2 separate regions of the Homo sapiens genome follow, and region 1 is linked to region 2. The links are contacts of gene promoters, found by promoter capture Hi-C in blood cells and fetal thymus (Javierre and others, 2016). All regions are on one chromosome and are shown on one strand. Each heading gives the region's core, a stretch centred on a gene start or on the middle of the fragment in contact. The rest is flanking DNA. Distances are from core to core; before and after follow the strand shown.

What was found. The method cuts DNA at HindIII sites, captures the fragments that hold promoters and counts their contacts. A CHiCAGO score of 5 or more calls a contact.
Region 1: a contact is called between a fragment that was not itself captured here and the fragment with the promoter of WSCD2 in region 2, in 1 of 17 cell types (endothelial precursors). The highest score is 7.1, in endothelial precursors.

What each region holds. Positions count from the first base shown.
Region 1 is chr12:108,445,708-108,448,407 of GRCh38, reverse strand. No RefSeq gene overlaps it. Among named protein-coding and RNA genes, the nearest start is that of LINC01498, 27 kb to the left of the region's middle. The HindIII fragment of the contact is 1,184 bases long and covers 827-2,010 here.
Region 2 is chr12:108,127,838-108,130,537 of GRCh38, reverse strand. WSCD2 (WSC domain containing 2) reads right to left here and starts at 1,250. Exons shown (of 9, transcript NM_014653.4): 1 at 612-1,250. RefSeq lists a silencer at 940-1,029. The HindIII fragment of the contact is 4,828 bases long and covers 1-1,571 here.

The DNA.
Region 1 (2,700 bases), core at 169-2,668, 320 kb before region 2:
CCAGCAGGAGCTTTCCAGCCATGTGAGTGACTTCTTCTGGAAATGGATTCTCCAGCCCCAGTTAACAGCATTCCGATTGTTAACCAAAAAGTGACTGAGGCCATTAGAGGTTTATTTAGCCAAGGTTGAGGATGCACCCTGGACAAACAGAAATCGGAGGAGCATCTGTGATCTCTGCTTTTCTCCAAAGGGGGCTTTGTGTGCACTTTGGTTTTTAAAGGAGAAAGAGCAAGGAGTGGGAGGCAGGAGAGGAAGGGAGGGAGATATGCAGTGAGGTAGATGGTTACATTCTTGTGAAGCCCTGATTAGTCTCAATAAATCCAAATTTTAGGCGGGGCACAGTGGCTCATACCTGTAATCCCAGCACTTTGGGAGGCTGAGGCAGGTGGATCACTTGAGGCTGGGAGTTCCAGACCAGCCTGGCCAACATGGCAAAACCCTGTCTTTACTAAAAATACAAAACTTATCTGGTGTGTAGCTGTAATCCCAGCTACTCAGGATGCTGAGGCAGGAGAATCGCTTGAACCTTGGAGGTGGAGGTTGCAGTGGGCCAAGATTGTGTCATTGCACTACAGCCTGGGCAACAGAACAAGACTCTGTTTCAAAAAAATCAGTCAATCAATCAATCAACATTATACATGTGAAAAGAGGGAGTAGAGGAAAAAGTCAATTATGTATTATCTCCCTCTCAGTAAATCTACATTTTACATAAGATAAACATGAAAAGAGGGAGTAGAGGAAATGAGCTCATGGTTTGGGTTGTGAAATTCCAGCTGTCTGTTTGGGAACAAAAGGAAGACAGTATTGGTGGCTCAATTCCCAAGCTTAACTTTCCCTTTGGCATAGTGAGTTTGGGGTCGCATAATTCTATTTTTTTTTTTCATAAGATGATTTCTGGCATGGGAGACACTGAACCATAACCACCCAGCTAAGCTGCCCCTGGATTCCTGACCTGCAAGACATGAAGTGAGATAACAAATGGTGTTGTTGTAAACCTTACCATTTCTGGGTAATTCATTGTGCAGCAGTAGATAACTGATACCAGACCCTTCACTGAGTCTTTTGGGCTTGAAATGGAGAGAGTCAGGCTAATTTGGGATCTGGGATCTCTTGGCAGACATTATTTCCTATCATAAAGATCAGAATGCCAGAAGAAGCCAGTTTCCAAGCAAGAGAGGGCAAAATGAGAGAGGGAGAGTGGGAGAGAGAAAGAGAGAAGAGAATAGAGAGAGAGAAGACTGGGGTGTGTGTGTTATTTCTACCTTTTTTTGGGTGACAAAACCCAGATTTACCTTTGCAGGGATGACTCTTTTCCCACTCTGTGTTCATTTGGTTCGATAGATCTGGCTGCACGCCCTCGCTTCCTGGGTGATTATGTAATTTACATAGTTTTAGCACCAATATGAAGTAGTTTCTGAAGCTAGCCTCCGGGGTTTTCAGTTATCTGAGCCAGTATTTCCTCCCTACTTTTTTTTTTGCTAAACTTGGTTTGACTTGAGTCTCACAAGTGAAAGCGACTTCATTGAAACAGGAGCAGAGAGAAGCAGCAGATAGAGATTAAGAAATTTCTTGAGAATGTACAAATTCCTGGATCCAGCTGTTCCCAAAACCCAGGCAAATCCTGCCTTCAATAACAACAGCCGGACAGCAGCAACAGCAAACATTTATTGAATACTTATAATGAATTCCACCTTTGGCTAATTTAGTTTCTCCCATTCGCAATCAAGAAAGTCTTGAAGAATACAATATCCATTGCAAAAATATCTGGAAAGGGAGATAATGTGCCAAGGGAAGCAAAATAAATCAAGGTTTACAAAAAGACAAAAGTGAAAGATCACGCAAGACCATAACTGTGTCATGTGTAAATTTCACCTAGGCCTTCTCTGTATTTAGGGCACCCTGTGACAGGGACCTCAGCCCCATAGGGAGATCTCAATGGATTAGATGCTAAGCTGATGCAGGCTTGGGGAGTTGCCAGAGAAACCTAAGCAAGGCATACATCTAAAAGCTTTCTGAATAGTTAAAATTAGGTCCTAAATCTATCTTCTTATTAAGAATGACAGGGATGGGCCGGGTGTGGTGGCTCACACCTATAATCCCAGCACTTTGGGAGGCTGAGGCAGGCGGATCACTTGAGATCAGGAGTTCAAGACCAGCCTGGTCAACATAGAGAAACCCCATCTCTACTAAAAATACAAAAAATTAGCGGGGCGTGGTGGCACATGCCTGTAATCCCAGTTACTTGGGAGGCTGAGGCAGGAGAATCACTTGAATCTGGGAGGCAGAGGTTACACGGAGCCAAGTTTGTGCTATTGCACTCCAGCCTGGGCGACAGAGTGAGACTCCACCTCAAAAAAAAAAAAAAAAAAAAAAAAGAATGTTAGGGATGGAAGATGGTGTTGGAAGGGGGATGTTTTTAAATTGAGAAACCATATTCCTTATGTATTCTTTTTTTTTTCTCTTAGGTTTTTTCCTTTTTTGCATAGAATACGAAGTTCAAGTTCTGTTGTTGTTGTCTTTGTTGTTGTTTTGAGACGGAATTTCACTCTTGTTGCCCAGGTTGGAGTGCAATGGTGTGATCTTGGCTCACTGCAACCTCTGCCTCCCAGGTTCAAGTGATTCTCCTGCTTCAGCCTCCCAAGTAACTGGGATTACAGGCATGCACCACCACGCCCAGCTAATTTTTTGTAATTTTTTTTT
Region 2 (2,700 bases), core at 1-2,500:
TTCCCTCTCTCTCTTTACACACACACACACACACACACACACACACACACACACACACACACCCCAGAATGGACATAAGCAAATCTGCAAGGCACCCTACACAAAGCCCATTGCCTGGGCAGCTCTGGCTGTTGGCATCAGATGACAGGCAGCCTTATTCACCAGAGTATCACCCCCAAGAAACATCTTCTACAGCCAACTTGGAAATATGACTAGCTCCCTCTCCCTTGGAACTCTGCACTGGCCAGAAAGAGGGTGATTCATAAATCAAATTTACGGGGCCCACTGCCTCCCCGCTGGCCCACCTCCGCGGGAGAAGCCCTTGAATGCATGCCTGTAGGGGGCACAGGAATGCCCAGAGGAAGGATGCCTGGATGAGCCGGAATGTCCCACCCTCTGCCAGAGGAGAGAAAGTTTGTCATCTACGCAGAGCTGGGCTGTCACCACTCTGGGTTCCTCACTCGCCGGGCTCTGGACGACGAGCCCCCAACCTGCGGGGAAGCGTCTGGAAAGCGAAGCCCAGATCTAGGGGCAGAAGACATTTCGCACCAGCTCCGCGCCCGGCTCCCTCCTGGAGCCCTCTTCCCAGGTCCAGGCACCTGAGTCCTTACCTGAAGGGTCTCCGCCACTTGCAAACTCTGCCAGCTGAGCTCAGCAGGCGCCCGGGGTCCCTCTCTGCGACTCCCGCGTCCCGCTTGGCGCGCCCGCTCTGTGGGCGCCTTCCCAGCTGCTGCAGTGGCTTTAAGGAAAGGGGAGCCTGGATTTCCTTTCTCGCCACCAAGGCTCCTCCTGCCGGGCCCTGGGGCTATTTCTCCAGGTCTGGCTCAAGGGGCATCCTCTGCGCCTCCAGCGGGAAAGTGGGATAGTGTGCGCCTTGAATTGCAGCAGCGGCGACAGCGGTGGCCGGGGACGAGGAGGCGGTGGCGACGCCAGCCGGCGAGCCAGGGAGGCGGGCGGAAGCGAGAGGAAGTGAAAGCCGGGCTCCTGTGAGCCTGGCGCTCGGGCGGGCGGCACTGCGGGTGCCCCGAGCCGCGGCGAGGCCCCGCGCGGGCACCCGCCCCGGGGATGGAGATGCCCGGGCCCGGTGCGCGCAGGGCACCGGCTGCGGCTCGGCGCGGAGCTCCGGCCGCCTGGCTCTCTCTCGCTGCCTCGCCGCTGCCTCCTTGGCTGCCTTGCTCGCTCCCCTGGACTTCACGTCTCCAGCCCTAGCTCCCGCGCCGCTGCCGCCGCCGCCACCAGCAGCGCGCCTCAGCCCGGCGCGCTCCTCGCACGGAGCCACAGCACTGCCTACCGCTTAACTCCTTGCATGCCACCTGGCCCTCCCGCAGCCTCCCGGGGAGCCGGGCATAGCCGGTGCCAGGCCGGCTGAGCATATCGGGCAGGGGCCTCAGCCTTCCGGCCTCAGTGTCCTCTTCTGTAAAATGGGTTCGAGACCCAAGCCCAAACCATAGGGTCGCTGGAAAAATTCACTGAGCGGATTACGCAAAGTGCCAAGCTGCCTGACATGGGGAGTATGCACCCCAAATGGCAGAGTGCTTGCTGCTGCTGCTACTGTTGTCGACCAAGAAGCTTAGCACGGTGCCTCACAAATAGTAAACACCCAATAAAGCGCAGTTTCGGTTTTTGGTATTTAGTTTGTAGTTTTAACAGGTGGTAAGTTTTAGCTGTGTAACCTCTGGGTGATCACTCGCCCTCTCTGAGCCTGTTGCTTTCCAATCTCTGTGACCTTGGGCAAGTCACAGCACCTCTCTGAACCTTTGTGTCCCCATCTGTAAAATGGGGACAGTAATGCCCGTAGTCAAAGAATTCCCAGAGAAGCTCTGGCAGAAGAGCCCTTCTCATGACGGGGCAGGGCATCTAACGGGAGCTGGACATCTTTTCTTTCTTGATCTGGCTGGTGGCTGCACAGGTGTTTGTGACAAGTCGTTGTACTGTACATTTACATATCAAGTGCTTTTCTGTACATGGGTTAAATCTTAACTGTTTTTTGTTTTTTTGTGTTTCTTTTTTTTTTTTTTTTTTGAGAGACCATTCTTGAGCAAAACAGAACTGGGTTCAAGCATGGGCTCTAGTACTTTCTGGTTGTGTCACCGTGACCAAGTTATTTCATCTTAAGGAGCCTCAGTTTCCTCATCCATAAAATGGGAACAATGATAATACCTACTGGATAGGTGATATAAGGATTAAAGGGTTTCAAGCAAAATGGCAGATATAAAGCTTGAGGCCTGAACTCAACCAGTATCTGCTGGTACTGATCACATATTCTACAGTATTATATATGTCCCATAGTAAGGGGTGTCTGGGAAATAACAAAGAGAACTGAATTTGAATCTCCTCAACAGTTGCCAGGTAAAATACAGGATGCCCAGTTAAATTTTTAGTATAAGTCTGAAATTTTACATGGGATATACTTTCACTATTTTTTTTACATTGTTTACTCAGAACCCAAATATAATTGGATGTCCTTTATTTTATTTTGCTGCATCTTGCAATCCTAACTCCATAATTACCAGCTGTATGTCCTAAAGTAAATGACTTAGCCTCTCTGGCCTTGGTTGCCCAATCGGTAAAATAGGACTAAAGATTTCTTCTAATGTTGACAAGAGAATGAAACTGATTAAAGTGGGTGGGTGTTCCCAGCAGCACATGTTAAGCCCTCCACATTTGTTCCGTACACTTCCTGTCAATCATCTCCCTCCC